2 separate regions of the Homo sapiens genome follow, and region 1 is linked to region 2. Evidence: promoter capture Hi-C in 16 types of primary human blood cells and fetal thymus (Javierre and others, 2016). All regions are on one chromosome and are shown on one strand. Each heading gives the region's core, a stretch centred on a gene start or on the middle of the fragment in contact. The rest is flanking DNA. Distances are from core to core; before and after follow the strand shown.

Region 1 (5,542 bases), core at 1,484-3,983, 97 kb after region 2:
ACTTCTTAAGCTTGATACCATAATCATGATCCATAAAAGAAAAATTGATAAATTTGCCTTCATCAAAATTAAAAGTTTTTGTTTTGCAAAAAACACTGTTAAGAGGTTAAAGAGACAAACCACAGATTGGGAGTAAATATTTGCAAACCACATATCCAACAAAGGATTAGTATCTAGAATATATAAAGAACTCTCAAAACTTATCAGTAAAAAAACTCAACAGTCCTGGTTGAAAAATGGGGAAAAGACATAAGGGGCATTTCACAGAAGAGTGTATTCAGATGACAATGAAGTTAAACAAAAAGATATTCAACATCTTTAGCTATCAGGGAAATGTAAATTAAAAGCACAATGAGATATTACTACAATCTATCAGGATAACCAGGATGCAGAGAAACTGCATCATTCATGCATTGCTGGTGGGAATGTAAAATGGTATAGCCACTTTGTAAAACAGTTGGCAGTTTCTTAAAAAAATAAACTTGCAACTACCATATGACTCAGCAATTACATTCCTGGGCATTTATCCCAGAGAAATAAAACTTACATTCATACCAATACCTGAGCACAAATTTTTATATCTGATTTCTTACTAATAGTCAAAAACTAAAAACAACCTAGATGTCTTTCTTTTTTGTGGGGGAAGGAGTCTTGCTCTGTTGCCCAGACTGGAGTGCACTGGTGCTATCTCGACTCACTGCAAGCTCTGCCTCCTGAGTTCAAGCCATTCTTCTGCCTCAACCTCCCAAGTAGCTGGGACTACAGGCACCCACCACCACACCCGGCTAATTTTCGTATTTTTAGTAGAGACGGGGTTTCACTGTGTTAACCAGGATGGTCTCTAACTCCTGACCTCGTGATCCGCCCTCCTCAGCCTCCCAAAGTGCTGGGATTACAGATGTGAGCCACCACACCCAGCCAACCTAGATGTCTTTCAATGAGTGAATGGTTAAACAAACTTTGGTACATTCTTACCAAGGAATACTCCTCAGTAATAAAAAGAATTTAGCTATTGATACACATAGTCTCTAGAGAATTATGCTCAGTAAAAAAGCTAATCCCACATTTAATTCCATACATAACATTATTTAAATGACAAAATTATAGAAATGGGGAACAGATTAGTGGGTGGCAGTGGTTAAGAAGAGAGGGAAATAGATGTGGCTATAAAAGACCAACACGAGGGGTCCTGGCAATGATGGAATTGTTCTGTACGTTGACTATATCAATATCAATATCCTGGTTGTGATACTGTACTACTGTTTTATAGAATGTTAATATTGGGGTAAACTGGGTAAAGGGTACAGGAGATCTCTCTTTATTTTTTTATAACTGCATGTGAATCTATGGTTATTTAAAAATAAAAGGTTTAATTAAAAACACACACATGAAAGAGAAAAAGGTCATATAAACAGTAGAAGGAGAAAATTCTCAAATGAGACTCTGGTTCAGCACACTATTCGTGATCCAGGTGCATTTTATAAGCACAGTCTTTCTTAGCATTTTGTTTGTAATAATCCAATGGGGAAGAGAAAGGAGTAAAACAAGGTCAGCAGAGTGAATTTGTTTTGCCAACGCAAACTTGCTGCTCACCAGCAATTGAGCCTTGAGTGAGAAAGGGAGCACAGCTCTTGGTGGTGTTCAAGCCCCACCCACAGGAGGTCCTCCAGCTGTGTGTTGGCTTCTTCTTGTAAACAGGCAATGGGGGAAGAGCTGATAAGGGTCCCGCTTTGCTGAACCCTGTGTTCCTGATTCCCAGAAAGGCAGGAAGTGTGGTGAAGTGTGGCACAAACACATATCAAGACCAGAAAGGACTCTCCTCATCTTTTGACAGTTTTGTGGTGTCGTCAACAGACAGCTGAGATGCAGATGAGCATGGAGAGTAGCTCCATTTCTTCCTGCCCAGAGCACTGGGGAGGGAGGGCAACCCACCAGTGGTGGGGCATCAGGAGCCCGGGAAGGACACAAAGAGTGACTGAGCAGCCACGGTACACAGACCCTACTTCTGGGATGTGGGCCCCAGCATCTAAGGAAATGCTCCCTCCTCACCCTGTGATAAGGCCACTGGCATGACCCAGCTCTGCCTCTGTATTAGTCAGGGTTCTCTAGAGGGACAGAACCTATAGGACAGATAGATAGATGATAGATAGATGATAGATAGATAGATAGATAGATAGATAGATAGATAGATAGATAGATAATAGACACATACATACATAGATACATAGGTAGATACACAGATAGATATAAAGGGGAGTTTACTAAGTATTAACTTACATGATCACAAGGTCCCACAATAGGCTGTCTGCAAGCTGACAGGGAGAGCCAGTCAGAGTCCCAGAACTGAAGAACTTGGAGTTCGATGTTCGAGGGCAAGGAGCATCCAGCACAGGAGAAAGATGTAGGCTGGGAGGCTAGGCCCGTCTCTCCTTTTCACGTTTTTCTTCCTGCTTTATATTCGCTGGCAGCTGATTAGATTGAGCCCACAAGATTAAGGGTTGATCTGCCTTCCCCAGCTCACTGACTCAAACGTTAATCTCTTAGCAACACTCTCACAGACATGCCCAGGACCAATACTTTGTATCCTTCAATCCAATCAAGTTGACACTCAGTATTAACCATCACAACCCCTTTCCTATCCTTGACCATACCAGAAAAAAGGAGGTAGAGCAATGGTCGAAAAAAACATGACAGGAGATTGTCTTATCAGCACCTAACATCTGACCTCTGACCTCTGGCTTCAGTGCAGGGGAACTGAGAAGAGGAAGAGGTAAGGAACGCCACTGTAGCTCTTACATTTTTCATCAGCGTACTACCCCAGACATCAGAGGAGGTGAAGTACATGCCCCAGGACACCAAGGTGCAGCTTGAAGCAATTCACTGCATACTAAAAATTCTTTGATTTTGCATGTTTGCGTAAGACTACATGCTACATCTGTTTTATCACTGTAAAAAAAAAAATGATGTGTCGAACTACTCATCATTGAGCAACAGGAATTTTCAGAGCGGTGGCCGTATTTGACTCATGGCTTTGGGCACAGATGTCATGTCATGCTTGGCTGAGAGTCTGGGCTCTGGAACTAAACTGCCTGGATTCAAGTTATGTCTCTACCTCTTGCTATAACAGATACTTTGGGCAAGTTCCTAATCTTTCTGTGCCTCAGTTTCTTTATCTATATCATGGGGATAGCAGCAGTGCCTACTTCAGAGCATTGTTGAAAGAATTAGGAGTTAATATGCATCAAATACTTGGCATGTGTGTTCACTAAATGTTCATTTTTATTATTATGAGTTACTTTCTGGAACTCTACACCAGTCCCTAGATCCTACTTGAAAAGCAGTGAATGACACAGCAAAGATAAACTTGCCAGGGAAAAACCTGAACATTGATTCCTATTTCAGAAGTGTTTTTGCTGCATTTGCAAGAACCTTTCGGCATAGACTTGTATTCTAACCACATTCAAGTCAGAGTCCTGAGTTCAATACAAATGAAACATGTCTCCCCTTTTTTTTTCACCAAGCTGGCTAAGGAGTCTTGCTCCATGAAATGAATTGCTGAATAGTATAAAGAAGAGTGCACAGGGAATTGGCCCTGCAGTTTTATGTATTGACACTCTCCATACTCCCCCTTTTTTCCAAGTGGATAAACACTATGTTTCCACGATGGTGACAGTATCCATGTCCTCCGTGGCAGCTACTTTGTCGGCTCCATTAGGGAAGTCTGAAAGGTTGTGGAGAACGTCAACAGAGTTCAAATGCAGGCCTCCTGTGGCAGGCTCTTAGTTGGAATGTGGTACAACGAGAACCTTCTGAAGCTCGCCCAAGTTAAACACAGGATTTGTCACACACACGGCAAGGACATAAAACTGGTATATGGTGGTGCCTCTGGTTTTCTGAAGTGCAAGACCCTAGCCCAGCAGTTAGAGTTGGGGCCCCAGAGCTCTGCAATGGGGGTGGCTGCTTTAGTGAGTTTCCTTTTAATTGAATAGGCTTAGAAGCCAGAATCCTTTGTTGTATGCAAGAAACAGTCACCAGCTGTTTTCTGTTTCCACTAAGGGCAGGACAAGAGGAAATAAAATGGATCAAACAACACGGACAGGATTTAGCTTAGATACAAGAGAAAACATCCTGATAGTGAGGATCATTGAACAGTCAAGGAGAGTTATGTGATGAAGTAGACAATCTCCTTCCCGAATATTTTTTTTAATAAAACCCCAATATGGCTGAGGAGAAGGCTCTCTGAATCAGTGACTAGCAGCCAACAGTACTGATTTACTAACTCCTGATTTTCTGAAATATTGGTGGAGAATGAAAGGCCCTCCAAGCTAAAAAATGTACCACATTCTACCATAATCTTGGTTAATGGGCTTCTCTTTTAAAAGGTATTAAATACTGCCAAGTGATCCCATATATCAGCCATTTCTACCAGTAAATATCACCAGAATCAGATGACCTCCTAAAGCCCAATCATGATGCTTCTCCCAGGGAATGAGGTTTATTGAGCTCATGAGAAAAGGCCTGGATCCATCCTGGACCACACACTGAAGGTGGCCCTGGGTACCACAAGGAAGGGCAGCTGGGAAGTTGGAGAGGATGAAAGGGAAGCAGGAAGACCCTGCACCCCTCATCATCTTCATTATGGTTTTATCAAAGTCCCCATTGACCTGCTGGGCTGGAGAGGAATGCTGAAAATCCTCTCCAGCCCAGTTCTGGCTCCATCCTATGAGTTTCTAATGTGGGAATTAGAAGACTGTCAAGATTCCTTCTGGACTTATGCTCTGATCCTGCAATGCCTCTATTTCCCCAAAAGCCACACATTCTATCTACAAAAGAAGCTCAGAGAATCCCAAAAGGGAGGAACCCTGACATGAACCAGGGCATGGTGAAATCATTAGGGATGCCATTGGGCCACCATAGGAGAAGAGCTTATACTAGGAAAAGCAAGAGCTTATATATACTTTAATGAAAATAGTTGACATTTATAAAGCCAGTAAAATATTCCAACAGCTTTTATACATTATTTTATCTAATTCTCACAACAAGCCTCTATTATCCCCGTGCTAGAATTTGAGGAGTTATCACACAAAGAGGTTAGAATCATTCCAACTTTCCCAGCTACGGGTGGAGGAGTTGGCCACACACTCCTTATACTCCCTGGGAGTGTGACGTATGAGGCTCTGTTCTCTTTCTTGAGTCTCTGCTCCCTTGGTTCTCTCTTCACTCTTCCTTCCAATGAACTTACGGGGTGAGACTGGATACATCAGGACTGGGAGACACCAAAGAGCCCTTGAGAAACATAGCAAGGAATGAGAGGCTCAGACCAGGAATCAAGGGAGAAGGCTAATCCCTTTGCCTTTCAATCATGTCCTCCTCTGGTAGCAGAAGAAGTAAACCCAAAGGAAAACACTCTCGCTGCCACTCCCCCCTCCCATAACCAATCACTCGCTTGCCAGAAGAAAGCTTCAAAATCTTTGTTAACATCTCACTCTAGGTGCCAGTACTGGGACTAGCAATCAAAATGAAACCTGTTTGCTGTTCCTCT
Region 2 (5,513 bases), core at 108-2,607:
CCCTTTAACTTCTAAACACTTGTGATTTTTTTTAGTGAACATTTTTCTGAGGGGAACTGTATAACCACAGGCTGATAACATCATTCAGTTTACAGAAACATCACCAATTCACAAGAATTCAGCCTCTAGGCTTGTTTAATTTACTTTATGAAAGCTTAAATTGCAGCATAATATATGTGCGTTTGGCCTATTTCAACTATTACTCTTTGTTTTATTGGAAAACATGTTTTACTCTTGCTTACTGATTTGTTCTTGCGTTGGGATCATCTCTCCTCCAGGAGAAAGCATTTCCAATTTTATTATGAAAGATTAACAGGAAAATAGAACTTCCTTCACAGACATTGATGTTCTAGGAATAACTTTACAAAAATATTTCTCTTCTCTGAAAACTAATATTTAAATAGGTGTAATCTGAAACTACCAGAAAAATTCAACAAACACCTCCAGCAAATAAATAGCTGAGTGTCTGTGATGTCCCTTTCCTGGGGAAGGGCAGTATAAAGATGAAAATCTTGTCTAGCTGGAAGGCCGTCACTAACAGGGCTGGGGCGCATAACCCTGTGGAGACATTTGTGCCCGGCCTTAAAGGGTGCGTAGGAGTTTGCCAAGTGGACGTGGAAGGAGGCATTTTAATAAGAGGAAAATAACATGATTGGAAGCGTGGAGGTGAGAAAGCATAGAAGCACTCAGAGTGAGGAGAGCTGGGGCTTGGGCCAGCCCACGTCAGCCCCTGCCTGCGGACCCAGCCTCTTGGAGCCAGGCTCACTCACCCTGCCTTTAAGACGGCCCTACCAGAGGCAGGAGAAGGATCCGCAGCCTCAGCTTTCTGTGGCGCAACCTGGCACTGAGTCACTCATACCAATCTCAGCGCCAGTGGCCAAGCCGCTGCTGCCGGAGGGCCTGTGTCACCCTCCCCCCGTTTCCCTGCCCTCTTCCCATCCTACCACCACCCAAGCTCCCTGGCTTCCTAACAGTGTGGCAGGGATCCTCCCAGGCCCCCATCCTCCTCCAGCCTGAGTTCTTCCTCCCTGCTGTCTTCCCAGTCTTCCCCACTAAGATCCCACCACCCTTCAGACCCGGGCTCACACCAGCTCCTGCTGGCCCCATGTGCCTCGCACCGAATACAGGAGGTCGCACACTGCATCCCCAGACACCAAGTACTGCCCTGCTTGACCACCTATGTTCCCCTGGGCCCACCAGCATGGACTCTCCTTCTGTTACCAGTCACTGCCTGATCCAGGCATGAGCTGCCTGTGTCCCCCGACATCATCCTCCTGGCACCATCCTCTGCTCTTCCTGGCCTTCTTCACTGGGAGCCTTCGGGATCATCCCTCCAGATCAAGTTCTTCCAGCCCCACCTCCCTCCCACCCTGTGCACCCAGGGAAATTCATCTCTTCTGGGTCCCAACCTTGGCCTCGGGAGAGCCCCAGATGCCCCCCTCTGTGTCTACCCCAGTTACTCAGTGTGGTCAGACTTGGGGGTTGTACAGTTTTCTGTCTCATGATTCATTTCCCCAGGCAAAAAGCTGGCTAATAATATCTGGGTGTGCGGGGGAGGTACCAGTGTGTTTCTGTGTTTGGAGGTGAATTTTTTTCTACTTTAGAATTTAATCACTTCTACTTTGAGCAGTTTTTAGCTGAGCTGACAGTAATATGCTCTGCATTGAGTATTTGTAGGGGGTGGAATTAGTCACCACAAATTTCAATTTTTGGACTTTCCTGATAACGCCACAAAGCTGAAAGGCTTCTAAAGCTTGAGCAAAGATTGGAAACTTGACCCCAGGGGTTGATGGTTGATCTTTATAAAAACGACCTTGTGGTCAGTTTGTTCTTTTATGCTTAAATTGTCAAGGTCCCTGTCCACCCCAGGAATTAATGTGGTGATGTGGAAAGAGCACTAGACAAAGGATTTCAAAACTGTCTTTGGGCCCTTGGCTCGTGGCCTTAGCTCTCTGACATTCTTTGCTTATAAAATGTACCCCCTGCCGGGGCGAAGTACAATCCTTACCCATTTTGCATGACTCAACATTTTATAATGGAAGCTTCTATTTTTGTCTGGCTAAATCTTTTTCAAATAAAAATATTTCTTGGTCTGTATATTTTTCATGTCTCAGACATTTTTATCAATACATAATGTCCTAGCTTTTCACATCTTGCAAATGGCACAGAATTGTGAAAGAATACAGCAAAAAGCTAGAAATATACCTGTGTATATAACATTGCTGGGGATTTTTATGTGTGGTTTCTTGTGGGTTCTAGTAAGCACGTTCATTTCATTACCTACAAACGCATAGAAAAATCCAACATAATCCCACACTGATGAGAAGAAGAGAGGGTTGTTTGTCAGGTGGGGTAGTTTCACTTGACTTGAAGGTCTCACCCCGCCCCTCGTCTTTACCATAGCATACGCTTCTAGATGCTTCTGCTGCATTGTCAACCAGACTCTACCAGAACTGTTTTTCAAAACATGTGTTCCTAGGATTTTACCTCCCTGCATTTTTTGCTATATCTATTAAGTAATGCATGTATATAATTAAAAATCAAATAGTCCTATAAGATGTATAATGAAAACCAGCAGTTTCCTATTCCAACCCTCCCAAAGATGAAGTCTGATGTTGCAGAGCCAATCACTTTCAGCGCAGCTAGATGTTTCTTCGGATAATCACCGCGCTATCTGTAACTAGTATGCACAGGCTGCTGTTTCTTGATTTACTGGGGTCATGATCTCATTCTCTTATTCCATTACCTTTACTTCTACTTCCTTGCTCCTCTCCATCTTCCTAAGATGGTCATACCCACATTTGAGATGCATGGTCCTGCTGACGTTGCTGTGACTATATACATTTTGTTGGCTGCTGATCAGAGTAGTACATCATGATTTTGTTTCATTTCTTGCACAACTTAATTGTTTTTCCTGGAATTATTTATTGCCTTCATTTATTTGCCTAGATTTATTTGTACCTATCAAAAATTTCGTATGTGCCAAAATTTTCGTATGTGCCATTAGATCTGCCGCATTCAGTATTACTTTTGGTATTATTTAAATATTAATTACCAGATAAGTATGTCAGTTCCATCCCAACCTGCCCTCCCTTCCCGCAGAGGCCCTCTCCTCTTTCCACCCAGAGCTCTTTAAGCTCCATCGCAGCCTGCCCTCCCTTCCCCCAGAGGCCCTCTCCTCTTTCCACCCAGAGCTCTTTAAGCTCTATCCCAGCCTGCCCTCCCTTCCCCCAGAGGCCCTCTCCTCTTTCCACCAAGAAAGCTCCTGCTCCTAGTATATCTGGGTTCATTACTCTAAACACAGCTTTACTGCAGCTTCCCTTTACTATGTTTCTCAGTTGGGTCCAGTTTTCTTAATCTCGGGGATGCTATTTCTTGATTTAATAACTCATTTTACTTCAAGATGTTCCTAAGTTGCCTCCTCATGAAAGGTGCATGGGAGGGAAATTTTTTTTGAGTCATTGAAGGTCTGAAAAGCTCAGTATTCTACTCTAACTTGATGGCTAGTTTGGTTCTCATATTCATGCTCATTCTCTCTCTCTCTCTCTCTCTCTCTCTCTCTCTCTCTCTCTCTCTCTCTCTCTCTCTCTCTCCTTGGATTGTCTCTTTATTCCTTTTATGAAATTTTACAATATGACTCGGTATGTGTGCTAAATATTTAGTGGATACTTTCAGGCTTAAAACTCCTGTCTTCTATTTCTGGGAATTCTTAACATTTTGTTTCTTTGATGATTTTACCACCATGTTCTGCTTCTTTTCTGGAATGCTTTTAGTGGTCAGATACTTGAACCTCTAGATTCATCCTTTCTATGCGCTTCGCTGTTTTTTCCTCCCTCAATTGCCATCTTTTGAACATTTTTTCTCTGGAAGAGTTCCTCAATTTGTATTCCAGCCACTCTGTTGAATCTTCTCTTTTTCAGCCTTTCTTTCTTCTTTTTATATAACATCTTGTTCTTGTTAGTGAATGGATGCAATATTACCTTAAAAGTCTAAAAATTATAGACATTGGTTTAAGCGTTTTCATTTATTCCCCGCTTTATCTCTATTTGCTCCAGATTCCTTTGTACTGTTTTGGTTGGTTTGGGCTCTCTTTTTCAGTCTGAAGGCTTTCCTCTGGTGACACTTGTCTGTCTTTCGTTTTAAGAGTGAGGCACTAAAGAGCTAATTGCAGCCGGACATGGTGGCTCACACCTGGAATCCCAGCACTTTGGGAAGCCAAGGTGGGTGGATCTCTTGAGCTCAGGAGTTCAAGACCAGCCTGGACAACATGGTGAAACCTGTCTCTACAAAAAAAAAATACAAAAATTAGCTGGGTGTGGGGGTGTACAGTCATAGTCCCAGCTATTTGAGAGGCTGAGGTGGGAGGATCGCTTGAGCCCCAGAGGCAGAGGTTGCAGGGTTGCTGTGAGCCAAGATTGTGCCACTGCGCTTCAGCCTGGGTGACAGAGTAAGACCCCATCTTTAAAAAAAAAAAGCGAAGAAAAGCTAATTGTAAGTGCTGTGCAATGAAGGAGGCTCATTGACCAGTGGACCTCGCTTGAGGATAATCAAATAGCAATAGAGGTTTTGCTGGAAAAATATTTGTTAGTGATTGTAGTTTTTTTCTCTCTGGAGTTTGTCCAGTTTTCCCACGGAAAAATTATCCAAACATCTGCTTTGGGGATGGGAGATGAAGTGTGGTAGGAGAGTGGAGCATGCATGCAACTGGTTGCTGGTGTGGGAACAGGCGCTGAAGGTTCTCACTGAATGCACCAGTTTCCCCAGTGCTGGGATTTTAGCCCATACCTCTCCTTCCCACTCCTCTGGGTTAGCAAATCGGTATGGAGCCTCTGCCCAAACTATCTGGAGACTGATCCTAAGATTGCCTGCCCCTGGCTGTGGAGGGAACTGGGGTCCCAGCTGCTTCATACCTAGACTGCCAGCCTCAGACCCAGCTCTCCCGTCGGGGACACCCAGTGGTACTCCATCTCTGACTCTCAGCTGGGTGAGCTGACACTCCCGAGCCATGTCCCTTTTCGTCAGCACTTCAGACTCTCTTCGTCTGCTTTGCCTAATCGGATGCGTGCCTCCAACCGCATTTCATCTTCCAGAAATTGGTGGAGGCCTGCCTTCCACTGATAATCCTTCTCCAGCATTTTATCCATCTTTTAATAAAATGCCATCTTTAATAAAATTATCATTCCTTCACTGTCATTTTAGAGAAGTTTTTCAAAGGACAGGCATTGAAGGCATGTAATCAGCCCACTACATTTAACTGGGAATGTTCTAACTACCTGAACTTTAAGATTCTGCTGCCAGCTTTGTGTTTACCGTTCTTAGCTAGATCTGTCACACACATATCTTTTATGCAGTATCTGTGTAGCCATGATGTGAATCAAACTACCGTAGCACTGCCTTCAGCATCTGTATCTTGGGATTATAGTACTGGTAAAATTTCAAAAGCAAAACTAACAAAAACAAGATCCTTTAACGGTAATTGATTAATTAATCCCTTTTGGGTTTTTACTGGATGA

What was found. Contacts are between HindIII fragments. The CHiCAGO score rates a contact against its expected background, and 5 or more counts as called.
Region 1: a contact is called between a fragment that was not itself captured here and the fragment with the promoter of UST-AS2 in region 2, in 1 of 17 cell types (megakaryocytes). The highest score is 5.2, in megakaryocytes.

What each region holds. Positions count from the first base shown.
Region 1 is chr6:149,126,919-149,132,460 of GRCh38, forward strand. No RefSeq gene overlaps it. Among named protein-coding and RNA genes, the nearest start is that of UST-AS2, 97 kb to the left of the region's middle. RefSeq lists a silencer at 2,702-2,761. The HindIII fragment of the contact is 5,450 bases long and covers 9-5,458 here.
Region 2 is chr6:149,031,304-149,036,816 of GRCh38, forward strand. It overlaps UST-AS2 (UST antisense RNA 2), which reads right to left and starts at 1,358. Exons shown (of 2, transcript NR_134599.1): 1 at 1,222-1,358. The region is part of intron 7 of UST (uronyl 2-sulfotransferase); the gene reads left to right. RefSeq lists an enhancer at 1,762-1,951. The HindIII fragment of the contact is 1,599 bases long and covers 153-1,751 here.